Linked DNA regions of Homo sapiens: regions 2, 3, 4, 5 and 6 are each linked to region 1. The links are contacts of gene promoters, found by promoter capture Hi-C in blood cells and fetal thymus (Javierre and others, 2016). All regions are on one chromosome and are shown on one strand. The core of a region is centred on a gene start or on the middle of the fragment in contact, and the rest is flanking DNA. Distances in the headings are between cores, read along the strand shown. Region 1 holds the start of SLC9A9 (solute carrier family 9 member A9). Region 2 has its middle 290 kb from the start of LNCSRLR. Region 3 holds the start of TRPC1 (transient receptor potential cation channel subfamily C member 1). Region 4 has its middle 310 kb from the start of LNCSRLR. Region 5 has its middle 340 kb from the start of LNCSRLR. Region 6 has its middle 880 kb from the start of DIPK2A.

What was found. Contacts are between HindIII fragments. The CHiCAGO score rates a contact against its expected background, and 5 or more counts as called.
Region 2: a contact is called between a fragment that was not itself captured here and the fragment with the promoter of SLC9A9 in region 1, in 1 of 17 cell types (endothelial precursors). The highest score is 5.7, in endothelial precursors.
Region 3: a contact is called between the fragment with the promoter of TRPC1 here and the fragment with the promoter of SLC9A9 in region 1, in 5 of 17 cell types (total B cells, total CD4 T cells, activated CD4 T cells and 2 more). The highest score is 14.3, in total B cells.
Region 4: a contact is called between a fragment that was not itself captured here and the fragment with the promoter of SLC9A9 in region 1, in 1 of 17 cell types (endothelial precursors). The highest score is 6.0, in endothelial precursors.
Region 5: a contact is called between a fragment that was not itself captured here and the fragment with the promoter of SLC9A9 in region 1, in 1 of 17 cell types (endothelial precursors). The highest score is 5.6, in endothelial precursors.
Region 6: a contact is called between a fragment that was not itself captured here and the fragment with the promoter of SLC9A9 in region 1, in 2 of 17 cell types (M2 macrophages and M1 macrophages). The highest score is 9.9, in M2 macrophages.

What each region holds. Positions count from the first base shown.
Region 1 is chr3:143,846,449-143,850,451 of GRCh38, forward strand. It overlaps SLC9A9 (solute carrier family 9 member A9), which reads right to left and starts at 2,020. Exons shown (of 16, transcript NM_173653.4): 1 at 1,700-2,020. The coding sequence starts at 1,874. The HindIII fragment of the contact is 4,941 bases long and covers 1-3,532 here.
Region 2 is chr3:145,774,206-145,778,201 of GRCh38, forward strand. No RefSeq gene overlaps it. Among named protein-coding and RNA genes, the nearest start is that of LNCSRLR, 290 kb to the right of the region's middle. The HindIII fragment of the contact is 2,533 bases long and covers 609-3,141 here.
Region 3 is chr3:142,721,648-142,726,107 of GRCh38, forward strand. It overlaps TRPC1 (transient receptor potential cation channel subfamily C member 1), which reads left to right and starts at 2,387. Exons shown (of 13, transcript NM_001251845.2): 1 at 2,387-3,084. The coding sequence starts at 2,913. RefSeq lists a silencer at 2,631-2,680 and an enhancer at 2,939-3,805. The HindIII fragment of the contact is 1,344 bases long and covers 1,714-3,057 here.
Region 4 is chr3:145,756,926-145,761,386 of GRCh38, forward strand. No RefSeq gene overlaps it. Among named protein-coding and RNA genes, the nearest start is that of LNCSRLR, 310 kb to the right of the region's middle. The HindIII fragment of the contact is 2,120 bases long and covers 1,348-3,467 here.
Region 5 is chr3:145,730,426-145,734,954 of GRCh38, forward strand. No RefSeq gene overlaps it. Among named protein-coding and RNA genes, the nearest start is that of LNCSRLR, 340 kb to the right of the region's middle. The HindIII fragment of the contact is 1,388 bases long and covers 1,314-2,701 here.
Region 6 is chr3:144,850,397-144,854,709 of GRCh38, forward strand. No RefSeq gene overlaps it. Among named protein-coding and RNA genes, the nearest start is that of DIPK2A, 880 kb to the left of the region's middle. The HindIII fragment of the contact is 835 bases long and covers 2,338-3,172 here.

The DNA of each region.
Region 1 (4,003 bases), core at 770-3,269:
CCTAGGGCTTCACATCTGATGGCATCCCCTCCTTTTTGTTTGGCTATTTCTCTCCCACCTGATTGTGATTTTTTTTTTCTCTTAAATGAGAGTTTTCTTGTGCCCGTTAAGACCCTCAATACTGGCTGGGAATGGTGGCTCATGCCCGTAATGCCAGCATTTTGGGAGGCCAAGGTCAGTGGATCTCTTTAGGCCAGGAGTTGGAGACCAGCCTGGGCAACATAGTGAGACCCTGTCTCCACTAAATTTTAAAAAATAAATAAAACAATACAGCAAAAAAAGGTTTTTTTTTTTTTTGCATTTGGGTTATGTTTTTTTTCTTTTTTTAATTATACTTTAAGTTTTAGGGTACATGTGCACAACGTGCAGGTTAGTTACATATGTATACATGTGCCATGTTGGTGTGCTGCACCCATTAACTCGTCATTTAACATCAGGTATATCTCCTAATGCTGTCCCTCCCCACTCCCAAGCAAAAAATTTTTAAAAGACCCTCAGTACCAAGGAATTTAACTCTGTGCTCTGAATGGATCAGCATATCAGCCTCCTGAGCCTGAAACTTCCGCCTTATAGCTCAAGTATCTCACAGTGGGATCCACTTAAGGCTTAGGATTCCTTAGGTTCTGAAATCACAACTATACACTGTTAATATCAGGACACCACAGGATTAGCATATACAATGTGCATTGATCTGTACCCTGAATCTCAGGCTTAGGAAAGGGTTTCAGGATTTCCAAAATGAGGAAACCCCAAATATAAAAGTATGTTATTTGCTATAAATTATAGCAATGCCTTGCCTGTTGCCATTGTGTTCAAACTTCCTATCCATTATCAGGCTGAGATAAGAGCAGTGAAGTAAACTATTTCATCAGTAACACCAGTAAAAACTGGTGTCTTTCATTTTACTTTAAAAGATGAGAGTACAGACAGATAATCTCTGTCAGACTTTATTAAACTTTCTGAAAGGAATGATACGGTAAGTTGCCCAGAAAGAGCAATACTGCAGGTGTTAAATATTTTTCCACACCTTGGCCTCCAATACATAAATAGGAGATACATAACAAATAACACTAGCAATGATCATTATAAATTAGAACATCTGAAATCAGGCTAAGAAGTAAAAAGTACTGCATAAAGAAACTCTCGTTTATTTATAACTTTTTATTATAAGAAAATAAGACACTGTTCGTATAAATAAAAAGGACTTGGACACAATATTCTCTTAAGAGGGGTGGGGTTAGTTTCTGCAAGTTTTCTTCTTGAAATTAGTTGATATAAGAGGAATTACTCCAGGCATTTTGAAGTGATGTTTTTTCTAGAACTTCGTAATGTTCATCGGTGCAGCCAGTGAGAGAAGGCTGCTCTTTGTGACTGCAGAGCCATCACTTCCCAACATCATTACAAAAACAAACAGCTCGCCCTCGACTCCCCACATGACAATGGACCCGCATCTGTCAACAGACTTGCATTATGTGCCGTGTGAGAACATGACTGTGACATTTGCTCTCGTGACATGGCAAATTTCGGCGGCTTGTCTGTAAAGAGATTAGCATTCGTTACGCTGCAGCACCTTTCATCAAACTAATGACATTTCAATCAGCACATTTTCTCCAGTTTCGGTACTTTGCTATCTGAGCACAAGTCTCTAATTACGCTCAAGCAACAAGTTTCACATCAATCTCACAATTTATGCACTCACCATACACCATTGCTCCTCCAGTTTCATGCAAGAAGCGGAATCGATGATTTTTAAATAACCAGATTGTCAAAATGGTAAGGATGAGCAAAAAATTGAAGACAAGCAGCTCCACCGCTCCCTGATGTTGAAACTGATACTCATCCTTTTCTGACATAACCCTTGACTGTCTCTCCATTCCCCAGTCTTCTTGGGATTCCTTAGATAAAAACCTGGATAAAGGCTATTTTATCAAGATTTGCCTAAGACAGTCTGACTGCCTGAGAATTTCAGAAGAAACACTGCCACTTTAGTTGCTACTTCACAAGCATTCTGCCCTGGCTTAGTATTCAGATGGCTTCTAGTTACAACTTCCTGTTTCTCTCTTAAAGCAGCCCTGTCTCTTTTCAAACTCGAGAGTGTGTGGTTTCATCACTGACTCTTAATGTCTTTAAGTGATTCATCTCATGAAAATATCTTTCATACTGGACAAATCTGCAAGCAATGATGCTAAGATCTTGAATCACGGTCTTATTATTCCAAATAAGTCTTCTTAAGCTGCATAAATATGAACTGTAGATTAATAATAAAAAAGGTAGCCTTACACTAGCAACGTTTTCTAAGTTCAAAAAGCCAATTCCTGACTCAACTTCACCTAAATGCAAGATCTTTCCTCTCTAACCAAGACCTGCCAAAGTGATGGGGATTGATAGCACAGTTATCAATCAGCCTCTGTGCTCTAAATGGATCAGCATATTAGCCTCCTGAAAAGATATTACACTGCTTAGCCTGAAACTTCCGCCTCATAGCTCAAGTATCTCACAATGGGATTCACTTAAGGCATAGGGTTTCTTATAGGGTTTCTTATGCTCTCAAATCATGACTGTACATTGGTTAAGCAAACCTAAAGTGATTTCACAGGATTTTTTTTTTTTTTTTTTAGTTGAGAAGCAAGAAAGGATTTAGTATATGACTCTATTTGGCTTTATATAATTGATAGTTGCAGAGCAGCCTTTAAACTCTAAATCAATTGTTTTTCTTTTAACAAGAGAAAACAATGAAAGCAAAAGACAAATAAAATTCCATCCCCATCTCTACAACTGTACTGTTTGGATACGTTGAGACAAAAAAGAAAAAAAACAAAACACATTACTTCGAAAGAGAAACTCACGCAGCCATCCTCAGCAACGCCACATGCATGGATTTCTCTTTGTAGGGTTCCTGGTCTCGGCATCCAGGACCCACAGAAATCTGCAATAGATCACAACCTCCTCTGTCCTATGGCAAAACAATGTTGCTCACTGAGAAATGGTTCTGCCACCAGAAATGAAAGCTCTGTATTCACAGGATTCTGATCATAAGAGTGATGATTCTTCAGATCATCTTCCATGTGGCAGGTTGCTCCTGTCTGATTTCATATTTTTCTACTTTAAAATAGTTCAAGATAATACCATGGGTTCTGCAGCTTTTTTTTCCTTTTCTTTCTTTTTTCTTAGCAAATATTATGACCTGCTTGCTTTTAACACTTGATCCTATAACACATTTGGGTATATCCTGGGGTTAGCTGATTTTTTTTTTCATTTTACCATATCATTGTAATTTGGGAGTATTAATCACTTATGATCCCCATTTTGACACAATTAATGCTCAATTTATACAATGTGATTTCTTATTGAGTAGGCTGAGCCCAAATGCGTCCTGAAACAATTTTTGTCACTAAAAGCTAAAGGTCAAGCATGTAATATTATTGGGAGCTAACTACCTCCTCAACAAACAGTTTCACCATGAGAGCAAGTCTATCAACCCCTTAATACAAAGCTCTGCTGTTTCAGCATCTTTGCTTTGTGCAACTTTGGAAGCTTATTTCCTCTCTGAGTTTAACTTAGCAGAGGGTATTTATGTGTGCTGCAGATGTTCTTCTGACACGCTACCCTTTTTGGCAGGAATATCTGTGATGACTAATATTCATACTGTTTTGAAACCTATCAGCTAATGCTTGCAAGCATTTCATGGAGCTTTGCTAGCAGGTTCTACCTTTATGATTTTGCAACTCCACAGGTTCAGTCGAGTTGTCAGATATACAAGATAACACAAATTCAGAAACTTCCTGTCCTTTTGTTTTTTGTCATTATTGAATTACTTTGGTTTTCTTTTATCACAATTATTCCATCTGAGTAGAATAAACATTCTCTGGTTGATCCGTGACATCCAGTTTCACTCTTTTAACCAATGAAGCAACTTGACAAAAGATTAATGGCCCATAGAATGTTTTGATTGGCTTACACGTCTTTTTAAAAAGTTTTAGGTTTGATGTCAACACATTCAAAT
Region 2 (3,996 bases), core at 625-3,124, 1.9 Mb after region 1:
AGCAAACTGAACTAACTTAATTCCCCAAATTCCTTTAAACCTGGAGTCTATTAAAAAAGACTGAGAAAGAAAATAAAACTCACATATTTCCTCTTTGTGCATGTTTTACATTTGCAAATTTAAATGGATGCTAGACCATATGTTATATAGACTTTGTCATAAGTGTTTAGAATTTTGTTCACAAAAAGCACTTTGTGAAATCTATTGTAGTTTCATCAACCTCACACAGCTGTAGTCTTTGCTTCAGGTAATGCACTTAATGCCTATCCCACTTTGCATACATAAAGAACATCAAACTTGTAAGTAATCCACGATACAAAGAAAAACACAAATGATATCTGCACAGAGAAATACAATTTTATTTTATAACAAAAGCAGTTCATTAGCTCCTGAGTTCAAATGAGTCCAAATCCACAACTGATAGCATACTTCCCATAAGGATTCAAAAACTAAAAAGGCAGTAAATGTAGGTGCACAAGCAATGAAGCAGGCAGGATTCAGAAAATCTTATTTTGAGTCCTAAATCCACCACCACCTAGCTCCGTGACCTTGAGAAAGAAAATTTATTACTTTGAATCAATTTCTAGATCTGTCCTGCTTATATTATAAGCTTTTGTAAGGATAGAATTGGAAAGGCATGTAAACGTGCTTTGTAAAGGACTATTACAAATAAATTGGTAGTACACTGCAACAGGAGTAACACAAACTGTCGGGTTTCTGGAATATTTGCTGTGCTCCAAGTGATTTTTATATTGCATCACTTAATCCTTACAAAGACACTGTAAGAGAGGAGCTCTGATCCCCATTTGACAAATGAGGAAATTGAGTTTGAGAGGAACTCTCTACAGGTTTTCTCCAAAGCCCACTGACTTATTATTTTCATAGAGCCTTAGAAGCCAGTAGGCAAAGGGAATGAAGAGATGAATAGATGAAGGATGGTGCCATGTCACTGAGAATACGGGAATACTTGAGAAAGGATCATCCTTGAACAGCAAGGAGAAGACCTTTCCCACTAAAGTAGGAAGGAATTAGGAAGGATTAAGTAGATGCAGATACCTTTATAGGTGATAGGATGCTTAGGGAATAACAATCAGGTATTTTCTCTTTTCTGCCTGCAATAAAAAGTTAGCTCTTCTCCTGAGGGAAGGGTTGTGATAAGGTCAGCAGTTGAGAAGAGAAGCCAAAGTTAAAAATAGGAGATGGAATTGACTAGAAACACAATGAGAATTTTCCAGGCTATTTTGAGGATCATACGTTTGTCACTTTCTAATCCCATAAAAGTGTGTGATTTTTCTTGAGCATACATAGCAGCATGGGTGTAGATGTTGAAAAGGCAGACCCTTGATTGATCTAGAGTTGGGTTTGACCCTGGGTGTAGCACTGATAGGGAGAGCAGACAGGGGAACTGAAGGCAGTCAACGTCCTAAGCTATGGCTGTCATCTTGTGTTCGCAACAGACTATCCTTTTTGAAATACATTTCTTTCTATTGACCTATGTTATTTAATGTATTCAATGATTTTTTTTCTTCCCTGGTTTAACATAAGTGGAAACAAATTGTTCATTCCATTGCTTTGAGACTTGGCTCATTTGAGCTCCATAAATGTGGTCACCCTGTGCTCTGACCACAAGAGATGGTCAGGATGTGGCCCTTGCCAGCTGGGTGGTCCTAGGGCAGGGGACTGGAACAGAGAAACAGCTAAAGTCCTTCCCCACCCATTGGGTAGATGTGTTCATGTTAAGAATGGGATTGTGATAACATACTTTCAGATTTTGAAATACAATGTGCAAACAGCTGTGACCTTGTAACAATGATCACAAAGACCTTGAGATCATTCTTACAGTGCTCTGTTCTCCTTGCTCTGTAAGTGACAAACAATTCAGATTTTGAAACAATAAATAGAACAAAGGAACTTGGTCTCATGTACTTCTTCAAATTTAGTACTGATGCTAGGTAAAGATTGTTAGATTTTGAATATAAAAGTTTCTCCAAAAATATGCCTTGTCCCTCCGTTAACAGATCTGCCTCCCATGACTAACACTGCCTCCCCTCTGTGCTTGACTTCTGATTGGGACTTATTATTACTCTAATTGCTGAGGGAGGACTGCTTGTTTTTAGTGAATTATTTCAATGTGTGGGAAGAAAAATCTCATAAAATGAAGACCATCTTGTAAAAAAAAAAAAAAAAAAAGAATTTCTCAATCCTCACCTGCATTTGCTTTTCTTCTTACCTTGTTTCTTTTTAATATCTCCATAATGCTTATCATCATCTGACATGCTGTATATCAACTTCTCTCTCTTCCTCTCTCCTTCCCTCTCCCTCTTTCTCCCTCTTCCTCTGTTTCTCCCTCTCCCTCTCCCTTCCTCCCTGTTTCTCTCCCTTCCTCCCTCTTTCTCTATCTTTAACCCTCTCTTCCCCCACTCCACCCCAGTATGTAAACCCCATGAAGGAAGTAAGTTCGTTTTGTTAACAGCTATATCTCATACAACTAAAACATCAACAGCCAGAGAGTGGGCACTCAGTGTTTGCTGAATGGATGAATGAAATGAATAGATTACCAACAGGTGATAAAAATTATCAATAACCCAATAAATCTTAGGATTTAGAATTTCAATGTAAAACTAATAGAATTTAATTGTTGAATAAGACAAGTTGAGATAACATTACTTTTCTGTCTCACCAGCAAAGTGAAATGACTTGAGGAATCATGGAGCTGAAACCAGTATCACATGAACTTTAATCCCAGAAGTCATCAGCAGGGGGTGCTACAGTCATGTGTCCCTAAGCATTACTCAGAGCCTTTTCAGAATCGTCCACAAGCTGAACATCATTTTCTTCTCCAAATACAGGAAAAATTCCTTCTGGCCAGAAAGAGAAAATTTTAACTACATTTGTAGTTGTTGTTAGTGTCTCATCAGAAAATTAGTTGGCTCAAGTTTGAGGGCTGAAACTCCTGCTTCTATAGAAACCTAAAATCTCGTTTGAAAAACCCATTCAGAAAAGCAGTATAGTAGATTGTTTTTATGTTAAACTACTAATGCTAATGTTTATCTTTATTTTATACTCTTAATAGTGCAAATTATTTGAATGTCCAGTGTTTAAGGGCAGGACATTATTCAAGGTTCATTGTATTGTATTTCAAGCTTTGGAGAGGCCGTGCATAGTCTCACAGGTCTGTAGACACGACAGTTTGCAGGCATCTGGCAATTCACTGACTTAAACACCACTTCCAATATAGGAATGACTTCTACAATACTTTCATCCTTTTTCTATAAGAAAACTTACAGTGACAATTCATCAAAATACAACATATATTTGTTACATTTTTATCTAACATCGATAGCAAACTTCTTTATAATAGAGTTAACTAAAAACCTAAATGATGAGAGACCATTAGTACATTTTGTTCAAAGGAGGAAGGAGTGATTTAGATATTTGTTTTAGAAACTATATAAATATCCTAGTGATTTGAAAGAGCAGATATAGTTGGAAACTGTAGAGCATGTTAGTTAAAAGTGTAAGTTATTAGCATATTAGCCAGAAGCACTATTAGCCAGTGCTTCTAAAACTTGGGTGGCATTCAGAAGCACCTGTGGGACTTGGTAAAAATGCAAAGAAGGCCAGACCTTCTTCTAAGTGATTTTGTTATATACCAAAGTTCAAGAATTATCATTATTATTTTGTTTGCATTTATTTATTTATTTTGAGATGAAGTCTTGAACTGTCGGTTGGGCTGGGGTGCAATGGTGTGATCTAGGCTCACTCAAACCTCCCCGTCCCAGGTTCAACGGATTCTCCTGCCTCAGCCTCTGGAGGAGCTGGGATTACAGGCACCCGCCACCATGCCCTGCTAATTTTTTGTGTTTTTAGTAGGGATGGGGTTTCACTATGTTGGCCAGGCTGAACTGGCTGAACTGGAGTTCAACGAGGTCTTGAACTCCTGACCTCGTGATCTGCCCTCCTTGGCCTCCCAAAATGCTGGGATTAAGAATTATT
Region 3 (4,460 bases), core at 1,137-3,636, 1.1 Mb before region 1:
TTCAATGCAATTCCCATCAAAATACCACCATCATTCTTCACAGAACTAGAAAAAATAATCCTAAAATCCATATGGAACCAAAAAAGAGCCTGCATAGCCAATGCAAGATGAAGCGAAAAGAACAAATCTGGAGACATCACATTACCTGATTTCAAACTATACTATAAGGCTACTGTCACCAAAACAGCATGGTACTGGCATAAAAATAGGCATATAGACCAATGGAACAGAATAGAGAACCCAGAAATAAACCCAAATACTTACAGCCGACTGATTTTCAACAAAGCAAACAAAAACATAAAGTGGGGGAAAAGACACCCTATTCAACAAATGGTGCTGGGATAATTGGCAAGCCACACGTAGGAGAATAAAACTGGATCTGCATCTCTCACCTTATACAAAAATAAACTCAAGATGGATCAAGAACTTAAATCTAAGACCTGAAACTATAAAAATTCTAGAAGATAACATCGGAAAACCCCTTGTAGACATTGGCTTAGGCAAGGATTTCATGACCAAGAACCCAAAAGCAAATGCAATGAAAAGAAAGATAAATAGCTGGGACTTGATTAAATGAAAGAGCTTTTGCATGGCAAAGGGAAGAGTTAGCAGAGTAAACAGACAACCCACAGAGTGGGAGAAAATCTTCATAATCTATGCATCTGACAAAGGACTACTATCCAGAATCTACAATGAATTCAAACAAATAATCAAGAAAAAAAAAATCCTAACAAAAACTGGGCTAAAAACATGAAAAGGGCTGGGGGCAGTGGCTCATGCTTGTAATCCCAGCACTTTGGGAGGCTGAGGCAGGCAGATCACCTGAGGTCTGGAGTTCGAGACCAGCCTGACCAACAGGGAGAAACACTGTCTCTACTAAAAATACAAAATTAGCCGGGTGTGGTGGCACATGCCGGTAATACCAGCTGGTCGGAAGGCTGAGGCAGGAGAATCACTTGAACCTGGGAGGCGGAAGTTGCGGTGAGCCAAGATCACGCCATTGCACTCCAGCCTGGGCAACAAGAGCAAAACTCTGTCTCAAGAAAAAACAAAAAAACATGAATAGACAATTCTCAAAAGAAGATACACAAATGGCCAACAAACATATGAAAAAATGCTCAAGATCACTAATGATCAGGGAATTCCAAGTCAAAACTGCTATGCCGTATGTACCACCCTACTTCCGCAAGAATGGCCATAATCAAAAAAATCAAAAAATAATAGCTGTTGGTGTGGATGCGGTGAAAAGGGAACACTTCTACATTACTGGTGGGACTGTAAACTAGTACACCACTATGGAAAACAGTGTGGAGATTCCTTAGAGAACTAAAAGTAGAACTACCATTTGATCCAGTAATCCCACTACTGGGTATCTACCCAGAGGAAAAGAAGTCATTACACGAAAAAGATACTTGCCCATGCATATTTATAGCAGCACAATTCGCAATTGCAAAAATGTGGAGCCAACCCAAATGCCCATGAATCAATGAGTGGATAAAGAAACTGTGATATATATATATATATATATATATGTGGTATATATATATGTGATATATATATAATGATGGAATACTACTCAGCCATAAAAAGGAATGAATAAATGGCATTCGCAGAAACCTGGATGGGACTGGAGACTATTATTCTTATTCTAAATGAAGTAACTCAGGAATGGAAAACCAAACATCGTATGTTCTCACTCACAAGTGAGAGCTAAGCTTTGAGGATGCAAAGGCATAGGAATGACACAATGGACTTTCGGGACTCGGGGAAAGGTTGGGAAGGGGGAGAGGGATAAAAGACTACAAAATTAGGTTCAGTGTATACTGCTCGATGATGGGTACATCAAAATCTCACAAATCATCACTAAAGAACTTACTCATGTAACCAAACACCACCTGTTCCTCAAAAACCTATGGAAATAATATGGAAATAAAAATTTATATATTTGTATAAATTATTTAAACATAATATAATTATATATCTATATATCCTTTATAAATGAGAGTTCATTTCCAGCCTAAAATGAGTACAACATACAAACCCACGAGTCTGGCTCTCCATTGTGCTTTAAAGCATAGTGCACCAGAATATGAAATAGCTGGACAATTCCACAAAGGATTTCGACTAAACATTAAGTCGTCAGAGACTCAATTAACATACTGCTCCATATTTGCTTAATTACCTTAAACCAGTACCCTGGGTGTGGAAAGGGACGATTGAGCGAAGTCTTCCTCAGACTGCGGTTCACCTCACCAGAGCGAAGGAAGCTGCAGCGGGCTCCAGGAGCCCAGTGCGTCCCCACCGCAGGCCCCACCCACCCACGCCCCGCTTGCCGCAGGCCCCGCCCACCCAAGCCCGCCCTTGCCGCAGGCTCCTCCCTAGTGTCGTCGCTACAGAGGAGCAGAGGATGACGTGAGGACAGAGTCGCGAACATCTCCTCGGAGCGCAGCTGGGCCAGCGGTTCCCACAGCCCTGGAGCCCAACGTGCGCAGAAGCGCCTCTTGGAGCTCCTCTCCCACAGATCTCTCGTCCTCTTCCTGGGCTAGGCCGCCCCAGGCGCGGCCCCTGCGACTCCTGGCACGGCCCCGTGCTCGGCTGCCGCCCTGGCGCGCGCCACACTGTCGTCCCCGGACGGGCGCGGACCGGCTCGGCCGGGGCGCCGGCGGCTGGGGAGGGGTCGCTGGCCCCGGGGCCGCGCATGCGCCGCCACCAACTTGGGGCTGTCAGTGGAGGGCGAGTGCTGGTTCTCAGGGGAGGCGACGCCCTTCGGGGCCAACGGGCCTCGAGCCGAGGCAGCAGTGGGAACGACTCATCCTTTTTCCAGCCCTGGGGCGTGGCTGGGGTCGGGGTCGGGGTCGGGGCCGGTGGGGGCCCCGCCCCCGTCTCCTGGCCTGCCCCCTTCATGGGCCGCGATGATGGCGGCCCTGTACCCGAGCACGGACCTCTCGGGCGCCTCCTCCTCCTCCCTGCCTTCCTCTCCATCCTCTTCCTCGCCGAACGAGGTGATGGCGCTGAAGGATGTGCGGGAGGTGAAGGAGGAGAATACGCTGAATGAGAAGCTTTTCTTGCTGGCGTGCGACAAGGGTGAGAGTTAGGCCCCTTTCTCCTCTGGACGCCCCTGTCCTCCAGACCTTTAGTCCTCTCCCCCGCCTCAACTTATATCGGGGCATTCCCTCTGTCTCAGGCGCCGAGTGTCTTCCCGCCTCGCCTGCTGCCTCAGGCGGTCTTCTCCTCACCGCCTCTGCCCTGTGAGTGTGGAGCTGGCGGGAGAGTGGAGCTGGGGCTGCGCCCTCGGAGCGCTGCACCGTCGGGGGTGGCTCTGGCCTTGGGGTCCGGGGTTTAGGTAGCGCCTTGGGAGCCCCGACCCCAGCGTTTTAGCGCCGCCCTTGCTACTGACCGCATGAATGACCTGGTCTTCTCTCTGGCTCGCAGTTCATTCCTTCCGGGAGTCGAGAGGCTAGTTTCCGACACTCCAGTCGGAAAATTCCGTCACCTTACCTTAGGATGCCTCGTATGGAGGGTTCTCATCACCTGGTTTTTGTTTTTCTTAAAAACAAAACCAGACCCTCTATTATTTAGCTTCACCTGACCAGTGCTTTAGCCAGTGACTGTTGACTGGCATTAATAACGGAATATCCTAGGTGGAGATACATGAAGTAAGGACGGGACGGAAGAAATTCTGCCTTAGTTGCCAAAACTTTCTCTGGATTTACGGAACGCCTTTGATTGTTAGTGCTTTTTATTGGAGAGAAAGATTTATTGCTCCCAGATCTTTCTTTGGGAGATAAAGATAGTGAAAAATAATTACAGGAATTACAAGGCAAAAATATGTGGAATATATTTAGCGCGTTATCCTTTTTTTAGTCTAGAAGTTAATCATTTTTATGGCCATATTAAGGCCATGTCACGCAATCATCCTTTGTAGTGATGTATATAACAAAAGGGATAGGAAATTGATTGCCCTAAGACTGCTTTTGTTTCCTACATGGAAACACTAAAATTTTTCTTTTTCCAAATTTATATGGCTGTACACTTAGGAAAACTCTGTTAGAAACATGCAAACTTCTGGAACAAACCCAAAGGGCAGTTTACACTATGAAAAGACTAACTACACAGGATTTTTGTTTGTTTGTTTGTATGTGTGAATGTGTAATTAATAAATGACAGCCTTCCTAACCTCTCCTCCTGCTTTTGAAATAGGATTTTATTTACATGATTTTTTGAAAACAATTGACATATAAACAAAGTCCACCTATGTCTGTGGTTGAGCCATTTTTATGTTCTTATGTAATAGTATTAAATAATATTATGAAAGCAATATTAATAATATTGTTAAAGTACACCATGGACACAACTTTGAGCAGTCTTTGAGATGTAAAGAAACAGAATATACATCTACAACGTCACAAAAATAGGGTCTGTGGATTATGTAAAATTATTTAGTATTGCTGGAGTGGGTT
Region 4 (4,461 bases), core at 1,158-3,657, 1.9 Mb after region 1:
AATAAAACAGAAACAATGCTTACATATATTCACCAAAAGACATATTCAAAAAATAAAGCCAAAAATTGGGAATTGTACAAATGTTCATCTTTGGTAGAATGGATAAACTGTCATACATTTCAAATATAATCCTATAGAGCAATGCAAATGAACACAGTATAAATGCAAATGTGGAAGACATGATGTTAATCAAAATAAGTCAGACATCATGAGTACCTCGTTCATGATTTTACTTAAATAAAGTTTAAAAACAGTCAAAAAACTAATTTATGATGTTAGAAATCAGCTCGTTTCCTTTTGTAGAATTAGGGAAATATCTGGCTGCTGATTCTTAGTCTGAGTATTGATTTTGTAGATTTGTTCTGTTGGTAAACATTCATTACATTTGTGAGTTGCACTGCATTTTTTGTTTGTATGTGTGATTCAATAAAATTTTAAAATAGTTAGATAGCAAGTTGACACTTTGAACTCTGAAATATAATTTCATGGAGCCAAAACACCAGGAGCAAGAAGATTTAGAAAATAATTTTAAAGATAACATTTATAATAGGCTCAAGTTAAATTAAGTAATCAGCAATAAAGCTAAAATGTATATATATATATAAGACTTCCATAAAATAATTATAAAACTTCATATAAAGACATTAAGAAACTACATAAATAAAGCTATAAGAAAATATTCATGGATCGGAAGACACACTTATAAACATGTAAATTATCCTTAAAACAATCTAAAGATTTTACAGTATCTCAAAAATATCCCATATTTTTAACAGTAGAGTTTGACAAATTCTAAAATTTAATTGGACACAAAAATGTCTAAGGATAGGTAGGATGGTCTTGGAAGAAGAAAAAGTCCTTAACTTTCTCTACTATGTAACACAATTATATTAATATCACTAATTACTATTATTACAAAAACAAGAAAAATCAATGGGACAGAATAAGTAGTCCAAAGATATATATATATATACACAAAACTGGAATTTCAGTAACAGAAACAAAGAAAAGGTTTTCAATAAATAGTATTGGAAAAGTTAAGGTGTCATAAGTGAAACAAAATGAATGTAAATTATCAAACCATATGAAAGAAACAAAATGGATTAAAACCCTAAAATGTGACCAAAGAAAACATATTGAAAAAAATAATAGGAGAAAACCTTCATGGCACTGAGGTTGCAAAAGATTTCTTAAACAACATAGAAGTATAAATGCAAATTTGGTTCAAAATAAAAGATTCTTTTGAGTAAACTAATGAACATTTATATTTAATTTTATTTTAAACTGGCTTAAAAAATAATTTCAACTGTAGTTTAAATCTTAAATTCAAGATACAGTATTTTTAAAAGCTTTGAATAAAATAATCTGAAAAAGACAATGAATTTTTTCAACACCACTCTTCTCATTTTTGTTCAATGATTATTTTATTGAAATTGAATTTTAAAATTATTTTGCAATGGAACTTGCTGTCATATGGGAAGGGGAAAAGCTATGTATAAATCATATGCAGTTGATATTGGGAAAAGTGCCATTCTAAATATGAAGTGAATACAGAATCATCTTCCCTTATATCTGGATATTCTAAACTTGGGAAATCAATATTGTTGATTGACCAATTTCTCAGATTGAATTTACTGAATATGTCTTAAATCCACTTAAAATTTGGAAAATAAAATAATTTTAAGCATTAGTCATCACATTACATACAAATGAGGGAAATATTTAAAATATTAATACAAAAATAAAAAACACGTTTAATTCAACCAAAGAAATTGATCTTATCTATTTTGATCTGATTTTACATAACATAGATATTATTATATATAGCATTCATTGTCACCTTTTTATCCCATCAACATCAGAATATTAAGCCAAAGAAGTCAGTTATGGAAGAATATATACAGTATGATCTGGTCATATGATTTCAAAACTAGACAAAAGTAAACAATACACAGCATATACCCACACATACACTTTCTCAGGTCATTTCAAATTCTTCTTAAACATTTTTGAGATCTACCTAAGATCTAATTAAATTAATACGCTAACTCTTGTTTTGCCACTTGCCTATTATTTCTTACTTTATAAACTATTTCTACAGTGAGCATATACATTTTTGTTCATAGCTATAACTTCTCAAGAAATGACATATAGAAAAAGAGAGTGTGTGTTTTTATTTTTACATTAATGATAACTTTTTGGTCACATTCTGGGGGTCACAAAATATTAAAGTTAGATCTCTGAAGATAGTGTTTTTTAATATCTGTATAGTTTTGCAAACAGGTCTTAGGAAAACCTCATATTTGAGCTCTGTGGCTACCCATTTTTTTCACTCTAACTGCTTCCAATTTCACAAAAATGTAAAATTTCTGTCTAATAGAGTTTTTTTTATAAAGGTACCTTTAGACAAAATACACATTCTGAATTTTCAAAATAAGATATTTGTTGTTTTTTAAGAGAAACATTCTAGGGTTCTTTTTTTTTTTTTTTTTTTGAGACGGAGTCCTGCTCTGTCGCCCAGCCTGGGGTGCAGTGGCGCTATCTCGGCTCACTGCAAGCTCCGCCTGCCGGTTTCACGCCATTCTCCTGCCTCAGCCTCCCGAGTAGCTGGGACTACAGGGACCCGCCACCACGCCTGGCTAATTTTTTGTATTTTTAGTAGAGATGGGGTTTCATCTATGGTTCTTTTATTCAAATTTATCTCTTCTGTTCTATCTCTCTGTAATTCCTTTAACAACATTGGTGGGAATTATTGTGTTTTCTGTGTCTTATATTTTCCTCATCACTTTTCTCTGAAGTCTGGTACATTTTTCTGGTCTGTCTGCATATAACTTAGCCAAGTTTCTGAAATATCCAGTTGGCACGTACTGCCTCTATTAGTTATTAACTTAACCACTACCATTTTTCTCTCTTTGTTCTTATTTGTTTTCACATATTACTTACCAATCTTAGCTCATCCTAGATTCATAAATGCACATTCTCTAATTTGGTAAAATAATTTACAAATTTTCTAAAATAGTTTTTCTGTCCATTTGAAACTAATTTTTCTGTATGTTTCTTCAGTTACTTTTTTCAAGGGAAATAATTAATCTGATTTCTATTCTTTTAAAATTATAGTATCTTTTAAAAAATCTACCAGTAGGGGTTGTTTATCTTCTTATTTTCTCATTCTTACAGGATAGCAGCTGTTTCCTGAATTTTGGCTTATAATCAGAAGTTCTATTAAGAAATTGGATTTCTGTCCAATTATTTCATTTAGTTCAGGAAGAACTGAATATTTTATACTTACTGTAAATTTGCACTATCAGTTCAGATATCTATCAGCCAGGAAGGAAGAGGATGGTGGAGAACAAAAGATTTCAACTCAATAGAAAGTTTTATTCTCCCACTGCACAACACAATTGCAAGTTGGAAAAATAAGTGCACTTTTATACATAATGGTACTGACCATGAGTCTGCAGTATTGAAGCTTTTCTCTATTTACGTATTATTTTGCCCATTTTTTTCTAGCAATTTGAAAGTTGGGGGAAAAAGACTTTATTTTCACTTAGACTGGTTTCAGTTATACACAAAATTGCACTAGCTGAATATTTCCAAAAATGTTCATTAAAATTGATACCAATTACCAATTTGAAGGTATACATCAACTTTAACAATAGATAAATAAGAATAAATATTTTAGTCATATTTTGCCAACATTTATATAATTTGAGGCGGCCTGATGCTTTTCAATGAATCAGTAATTTATGTGATTTTAATTTCAAATAAATTGTACAGAAGACTTTTCCAAAAAAAAATAGCCTTTAGTACATCACAAAACTCAAAGTTCTATTGTAAAATACAATAACTTTAGCAATATTCAGCAGTAAGAAATATGATATTTGTTTAATTTACACTGTATGGCAAATATGCTCAGTGGATTTCACACATGATTTCTAATTATCCCAACAACTGTGGGAATGTTAACTTTTTAACACTGGTACAGTGAGGTGAGATAATGATATACTTGCTTTTAAAGTGCACTCTCATAACTGGTATGAGAAAAGCATCCAATTTCATTTTACTGCCTCACTTCATCTTTGATCCATATTCCCTTTTCTCTCTACATAGCATTTCTTTTAATGTGTTTCATCCATCACCTTAGATAGGTATTGCTTTTGTTAATATATAGTACTATTTTGTATGCATGTGTTTTTAATTTGCATAAGTAATATTGGATCATAGATTTCATTCTGTTTCTTACTTTTGAGAGATAGGAAAATTAAGGTTCAAAGAGGCCAAGTAGCTTCCACAGGAGTACATAACCTGCATATTTATACTTGAGTTCCACACTACAATGTGTTTAACTCTGAAAGCCCTTGCTATTTTCAGTGCATCACACAATTGATTCCTAATATAAGTGAACCCGTGGCATAGGGAAACATTATTTTATAGGAGTTTCATTGTATTTAACTCTGCATA
Region 5 (4,529 bases), core at 758-3,257, 1.9 Mb after region 1:
AGAAGGGTAGACAGAGTGACAGCCCCATGGGGGAGATGCTAAAACTTGGGGCAAGAAGATAAAAATGCCCCCACTCCTCCCTACTTGCGCAGAAGTAGAAGCACAGGGAAAGAACAGGTGAGTTCCTCTAAACCAGTACTTTTTACAGTGTGGTCCACAGCCAGTGCAAGTTCTGCCAATGTGACTAATAAATTAAATGAGTTCAGGAATATGGAGGTAACCATTTAGACTTTTATAGGAACCTGAAAGAGTGGACTTTTGTCTGATGAATTTAATTTTAAAAATATGACCTTGCATATTGCTTATTTGTTTTCTATCTCAGTTTTCAAGTATTTCATTTTAATTATGATTTACTAAATTATTGATCAATAATAAGCTGGAAATAAAAAGGTCTGGTCCTTTCCTGCATACAGCACTCCTCCACATTCTAATACAATTGTTCTTTCAAGCATTGGACATGGGTGCCCTTTCACCTTTACAAAGAAGCTCCAGGAAACTTGTTATCTTTAACAAACCTTCAAGAGTAGAAGTTAAGAAATACTTATTCTCTCTTGTAATTTGCCAGTGTCTGCTCTGCAAATCTGTTTCCTGATGTAATTAACAAACTCACTGTCTTCTCTATGTAACTGTTCTTTCTTTTAGATTTGGCTTCATTCAGTTCACTTTTACCAAATACACACCTAACAATTGACAGATACTATATTGCCCAGATCAAATATAAGATAGAATCTCTAACTGGTCTTCATAAGGCCTGTGTTTCTTTGTGTGGCGATTTTACACTGGGCCACATTCTAATGGGAAGATTAGCTAAGGTGCTAGCTATTCTTGAGTCAGATACTACCAATTTTAACAACTGTGGTAGAGAAGGGGCTGTAGTATTGCAAAGTACAGAGCAAGCATACCACCATGTAAGGAATTATTAGGATGTGACAAACATAGACATTTTAACTTAGTTACAGGTAACATGATATTGTGAGAACATAAATAAATACAAATAAAACTTGGATACACAGATATCACAACCTTCTTCATCTATGGATATTGCACCAAGTGAATTATTTCTGAATAAGATAAATCAAATAATTTCTTCTTCTAGAAAAGTGGTAGCTTGAAACAACCTCCAGGTATAATCCAATTAAAAATGCTGATTATCATTATTTTTAATCCTTTAAAGCGAATGAAAATACATTACTATGGAGAACTAAGTAGGAGCTGAAGCTGGAACCACCAGTAATACATGGTGGCTCAAGGCTTTGACTCAAATCCACCACACAAAAGGGCACACAGAAGACAAGGCCTAGTATCCTAGACCAAGCTTGGTTAGTGACTCCCAGGAAAAGTAGTTCTCAAGGTGATAACTGCAGTTGGGTGAACTAGAAAGTAAAATGCCTCCAAAACATGCATGGGAGAAAAAGAAACAGATACAGAGAGAAAGTAAACAAGTCTAAGAATTTCTTAAACAAGAGAAATAGTTCACGGAAGAGAAAACACAAATATGAAAAGTGATTAGTAAGTGGGAGAAAATAAAATTATGAGGTAAAAATTCTACACTCAGATACCAAGAATTAAAATGTCATGGAAAAATTCTTAGCGTGTGTGTGGAATAACTGAAATACATCAATTGTTAGTGGATGAAGTTATTTATGTAACCATAATGAGAAACAACCTCGCATTATTTAGCAAATCTACAGATGTGAATATCATGTGGCCCAGCAATTCCATTCTTAGCTGTTTGCCCTGAAGAAAAGCGCAAGAGGATTCATGGCAGCACCATTTGGAAGGGCCAGCCTTTGAAATAATCCAATTCTCTTTGACAGGAGAATAGATACATAAAATGTAGTAGCATTCATAATGGGATAGCAAACAGCAATACAACTTAGATAAACACCTCATCCGTCAGTAACAATAGAAAACACAATATTAAATAAAAGAAACATAACACAGAATAATACACAGAATACAATTCTACTTCTGTAAAGTTTATGAAGTATGCAAATTAGCAGTGTAGTGTTAGGGATGCATTGATACACAATAACACTATAAAGAAAAGCAAGAGAATGATAAACACAAAATTCAGAAACTGGGAGTCAGAAATGCAGACAAAATTGGAGAGAGGTAAATAGAAGGCTTTAAAGATATATATACTGCACTTCTATAAGCTGGGTGGTGAGCGTGAAAATTTTTTATTATTTTGAAACATACACATATAATATTTATATTTTTGTATGTATGATATGATTTACAACAATTTAAAACTATCGAAGATGTGCACATTTAAAGAAACTAGAATACATATATATAAGAAAATTTATTTGTAACGTGAACACAACTTCAGAGTTCTGCCTTAAAACAAAGTTCTTGCCTTATCTTTGCAAAACAGCACCAAGAAAATAACTTGTTAAACTATGTTGTATAATTAAAATCTCTGCATTGGATTATCATGAAAATGTTTAAAGAGTTATAGAATTAGATGAATTAAACCATTCACATTTGCATGTAAATCTACAATGCTGCTTTTTAGAAGTAGTTACTAATTTTCCATTCTAATGATATCTAACTTGGTGATAATTCTATACTTAGCCAACTTTCACTCAGTTTTTGTTAATCACCTTTCCATGTGTTTGAATACTGTATTTGATGAGAACAGGAAAGAAGCAAGCAGTATTAAACAGAAAGAATGAAAAGTTGATGACTGAATAGAAGCTTGTTTGAATGCTACAAATAATTGAAAACATATTCAAGAAGATGAAATTTGTTAAACAATAGTACTGGATTCTTCCATTGAACATATTTGATTATATAACAATAAATGTTTTTCTAACTGGAATTTTGTTTTTATACTTTTTTATATTTGATTTTCTGTTTGACACTGTGGAAAACATGATTATTTGTTTGAATGTATCTTGTTTTTCTCTGTTTCATGAATGGATATAGCTCTGTGAGATCCTTAGAAAGGGGAGAATATCAATGTAATAAGTATTTTGCATCTACATCATAGATACAAACAATTTTTATATAATACATACATTAAAATTGCATTATTCTGAATTATAAAAGAGTAGGTCGACATGGAGGTTATGATATTAAAGTGTTATAGAAATAAGAATATTGGAGAATAATTAGATGCTTAGGCAGCACAGTTAAAAGTAGAATTTTGTGGGATTTTTTTTCTTATTTTAGGATACATACCAACTTGTCAATTGCTAATGTAATTATAAGATTCATACATTTTACCTTTCAAAATCTAAAAATGATTGTCAAGGTGAATTTTCTTCATCACATGAGATAATTTACAAAAATTAAGTAAATTCCAGGTTTATCATTTTGGAAGATGTCACTGATTAAATAGTTCAATGTTCTCATTTTTAAACAGGAACCATCTAAAACCTAAAGAACTCAGTTCAATTTTCTGATAGCATGACTGGGTTTCGTTTCACATGTCCTGCCATCTAGTTCACAGCTCTTTGATCAATATTACATTCTGTCTTTATTTGGCCATAAGTTTTTCAGTCATGTGGTTCGGTATACCTTATAATGCTCATTGCTATAATCAGCAGTGACAGTAATGTTTTGATGGAAGGTTTTCCATATCTTCCTAACAAGAATTCCACAACTTCTAGAAATAAATGTGTACTCATTTTGTAAAGTCCAGAACAACAGTTGTTTACAATTTAAGCTAAATAATTTCATTAAATTTAAGATACAATTAAAGTAACAATACAAAATAGATTTAGTGAATGAAAAACACTGCTGCTATAGCAAAAATGATCATTATATAATTCAAAATTTCAAGAGCACCATGTTAGATAAACATAAAAAGGTGTTCTGTGATTGATATAAATTTAGTAGTTTTAAATATGCATATGGTTACATATTTACCTGTACCCTTCCAGAAACCATAAATTAAGCCAATATTTTTAGAAAATTACTGTATAGTCAAAATCACTGATTTATTTGTTCTGATCTAATAAATATTTACATTTTTAATTTTATTATAATTTTAATTTCATTTAATTTTTTTTAGACAGGATCCTGTTCTGTCACCCAGATAGCTCTACACTTGTGTAGAGATATCTAGGAAACAGATATTTTGTTCATCTCAGGGCCACATTAAAATCAGTTTTCAAGTAGAACTATTAATAAGATATATTTTGGGGTAAGATACTTTGATTTCATACAGGGCCTGCTATCTGTCACGTGATGCTATACTAGAGTCAGGTTGGAATGTGATATCTTATTGCTACAAAAAGTCCATTTTGTCATTCTTAAGATCCCTGTTTTAATATTAATGCTGGAAATTTGTGCCTGAATTCCAAAGGGAGGAAAGTATAATAAAGCATGTCCAATCCTCCTTTCTATCATGGCCTGAACTAGGTTTCTCCTGTTAATCTGTCTTATGTCAATTTAACCGAACTGGAGACCCTGAGAGAGTAGAGGTCAAGATTTGCCTCTCCTACACTTGCATGCTAAATATGTTTTATTTTTTCTATTTATAATAAATGACATGCTATCTTTTAAGTATTATTGTT
Region 6 (4,313 bases), core at 1,505-4,004, 1.0 Mb after region 1:
ATGAATACTACTAATTAGAACTACAGTCATTGGCTATATAAAGAGAGATGGTTGCAGTGTTTAAGTATTGACATCCATCTCTACCCATATGACCAGTTAGAGCTATAGAAATCAATTTAAATCAATTAGTATTAGAGAGTCTTCTGTGGGCAATGCATTATTATACCATACAATGTGAGGGATACAAAGATTCAAGTCCTTTGTTCAATAAATACTTATTTAGCTTCTACTGTATGTCAACTACTATTCTAGGTACAAGAGACTCAAAGAGAAGGCAGTGAACAAAACAGATATAAAAATGCATTAGTCACAGCCTTCCCTTACAGAGGGACTACATATATATATATATATATATATATATATATATATATATATATACACATTTATATTTATTATATATATTTATATTATATTAAATATAATATATAAAATTTATATTATATTAATTTATACATATAAATTTATATAGAGAAATTTGTCTTATCTGTACTATCTAATATAGTGTATGTATATATACATGTATATACATATACATACACTATATATACATATACATACACTATATTAGTACAGGTAAGTACTATCTATATGTATGTACATATACATACACTATATTAGATAGTACAGATAAGACCAATTTCTGAAAACAATGCCAACGTCTTGTAAAGAGGCAAAATCCTTCAAAAGTTAACAGCAAAAATAGAATTGACCTTTTGGGTCTTGTCTTAGCCTTTAAAAATAGTTTTTTTAACCAGTAATCATTAAATATGCTCTTGATTGAATAAAAACAGCATCAAGCCTAAAGTGACCATTTTCATTTTCTGATTACGTAGTTTATAATACTATGTTTATAATACTATAGTTTATAATAGGGTTATTAGATGCCATTTGAAACATAGCCTTTAAATGATGCCTGTAGACAAGAACTAATCAACCAATAACCACTTGGAATGTTTCCATCTTCTGGATAAATTTCTTACCATGAATATTGATTTAAATTGAAACTTATATTGAGACTATTTATCTTCTCTCAAAAGGTAACTCTGGCCGGGCATGGTGGCTCACGCCTGTAATCCCAGCACTTTGGGAAGCCAAGGCAGGTGGAGCACCTGAGGTCACGAGTTCGAGACCAGCCTGAACAACATGATGAAACCCCATCTCTACTAAATACAAAATACAGCCGGGAGTGGTGGCATGTGCCTGTAATCATAGCTACTTGGGAGATTGAGGCAGGAGAATCACTTGAACCCAGGAGGCAGAGGTGACAGTGAGCTGAGATTGCGCCATTGCACTCCAGCCTGGGCAACAAGAGTAGAACTCCATCTCAAATAAAATAAAATAAAATAAAATAAAAGTAACTCTGAAGAATTACCCAATTCTATAAAAGGAAATTCTGACTTTTTTTGTACTTCCATAAGAATTGATTGATCGCATACCTAATTCTTTCTAAAATGTATCAGAAAGTACCATACAGTACATGTTCACTGCACAAGGCAATGTACATGCATGTCTGTTTACATCATCAGAGGGCGCTACTGGAGGACAAGGGTGGACTTTACTTTCTTTGGGTCTCAAACAGCACCCAGCATCATGCTTAAGGCATTGTATAAGTGTGTGTTAAACAAATGCAGAACAATTAAACGAATTTTAATAAAACTGAGTGTCTTGAGATCAGCATGGTATCACATTTAAAAGAAACAAAAGGCTGACTCCAAAAGTATTCAAAATATAATGGGTCTTTGTGGAAGTTTCATGCCCTTGTTTCTCCATCCAAAATCACTCTCATCACTGTAGCTGCTTCATTTTCTATTTCCCTTTTGTTTTCTTCTGCTTTTCAAATTCCTGACAGAATCCATATTCTGTAAACTGTTGCTCTTTTCTTGCCATTTCACTTTCACAGATTTGTCTTACCTTGTTTTAATCCATAGTCCTTCTGCACTACTTCAATACCTTTAGCTTCCTGCTGTTCTCACTCTCTAAATTCTACAGGCATAACAAGGTTCAATTAATGCTGGCCCCGAGTCAAAAACCTCCTTCCTTTAGGCAACTGGAGAGAGCCGATGAGTGAAATTGCTTAAAATCGTTTCTTGTCTTTGTTTTTACTTATATTAGTATCTGTCACACACAAAGGACTCACAGGTTGAAAATGTCTGGTTCTTTGAGGAAAAAAAAAATAGGTAAAGGCATTTACTAAACACAGCACCTGCGGGTTCCTGTGAAAGAGGAGGCATAGTTGGTGGTCCATTATATTGCAATGCCATAAACTCTAGCCAGTGTCTAGGTAGATTCTTGATACTCTGGCAAATAAGAGAGATGAAGATCGAAATAGAATTAGCAAGCTTAAGGATCAAGCAAGAATGTCTTTCAAGGGCTGAAAATATTTGTTCTTTGTTTTCTTTGCCTCTTCTCTTTAGCCAGGGAGTGGATAGCCTCAATCCCCTGAGTGTCAAACCCCCTGATAGTACTGCAGTTCTTACTTATGCTCACCTCTCAAAGACTTTCATTCTGTATTTATTCTCTCAAGATATCTCTGTTAGGTTGTCTCTCTACTGAATTCTGCCCATCAATATTATGGGATGTATGTACAGCACTACTGTAGTATCTCTGATCTTGTAAAAAACCCTGTCTTAACCCTACATTTTCCTTAAACTATTGCCCCATGATATGGTTTGGTCTGTGTCCCAAACCATATCTTGTGTTGAATTGTAATCCCCAGTGTTGAGGGAGGAAACTGGTGGGAGGTGATTGAATCATGGGGGGAATATCCCCATTGCTGTTCTCATGATAGTGAGTTCTTACAAGATCTGGTTGTGTAAAAGTCTGTAGCCCTTCCCACTCTCTGTTGTGAAGATGTGCTTGCTTCCCCTTTGTCCTTCTGCAATGACTAAGTTTCCTGAGGCTTTCCAGCCATGTTTCCTGTACAGTATGTGGAACTGTGGTTCAATTAAACCTCTTTTCTTCATAAATTACCCAGTCTCAGGTAGTTCTTTATAGCAATGTGAGAACGGACTAATACACCCCATTTTTCTGTTCTCCCACTTAGCAAAATGACCTCAAAGATTTGGGAGGATCAGTCACTCTTAACTTCTTTATTTACTACCTCACTGGAATTTTCTTCTAATTCGCCTTGCTTGACTTCTCCTCCTTAACTCTAAAAGTTGAAATAAATCAAAGCTTTATCCTGTGTAGGGTCCAGCCCTACGGGGCTTAGCGGGTGTTCTCCCCGTGTGCAAAGACTAGAGATGGTAATAAATAAAGACACAAGACAAAGAGATAAAGAGAAAACAGCTGGGCCCCGGGGACCACTACCATCAAGATGCGGAGACCAGTAGTGGCCCCGAACAGCTGGGCCTGCTGATATTTATTGCATAAAGACAAGGGGGCAGGGTGAGGAGGGTGAATCTTCTAAGTGATTGACAAGGTGAAGCAAGTCACCTGATTACCGGATAGGGGGCCCTTCCCTTTTAGGTAGCCAAGGTAGAGAGAGAAGGCAGCATACATCAGCATTTTCTTCTCTGAACTTATAAGAAAGATCAAAGACTTTTAAGACTTTCACTGTTTCTTCTACTGCTGTCTACTACGAACTTCAAAGAGGAACCAGGAGTACGGGAGGAGCATGAAAGCGGACAAGGAGTGTGATCATTGAAGCACAGCATCACAGGGAGGGTTTTAGGCCTCCAGATGACTGCGGGCAGGCCTGGATAATATCCAGCCTTCCACAAGAAGCTGGTGGAGCAGAGTGTTCCCCAACTCCTCCAAGGAAAGGAGACTCCCTTTCGCGGTCTGCTAAGTAATGGGTGCCTTCCCCGACACTGGTGGTACCGCTTGACCAAGGAGCCCTCAAGTGGCCTTTTGCGGGTGTGACAGAAGGCTCACCTCTTGTCTTCTAGGTCACTTCTCACAATGTCCTTTCAGCACCTGACCCTATACCCGCCGGTTATTCCTAGGTTATATTAGTAATGCAACAAAGAGTAATATTAAAAGCTAATGATTAATAATGTCTATAATAATGATTGATAATTCTTCATGATCATCTCTATATCTAATTTGTATTATGACTATTCTTATTCTAACTATTTTCTTTATTATACTGAAACAGTTTGTGCCTTCAGTCTCTTGCCTCGGCACCTAGGTAATCCTCTGCCCACAATCCTGGGCCCAATTCTCCTTTCCATCTACCTACACAATGTCCACAGGTTATATCATCTATCTACTCCTGTGACTTTAAACACCATAATTGTGCAAAATGCTCTTTGAAATCCCACAGTGATATACCAAACAGCCTTCTTGCCATCTTCATGTGTTTGTCTAAT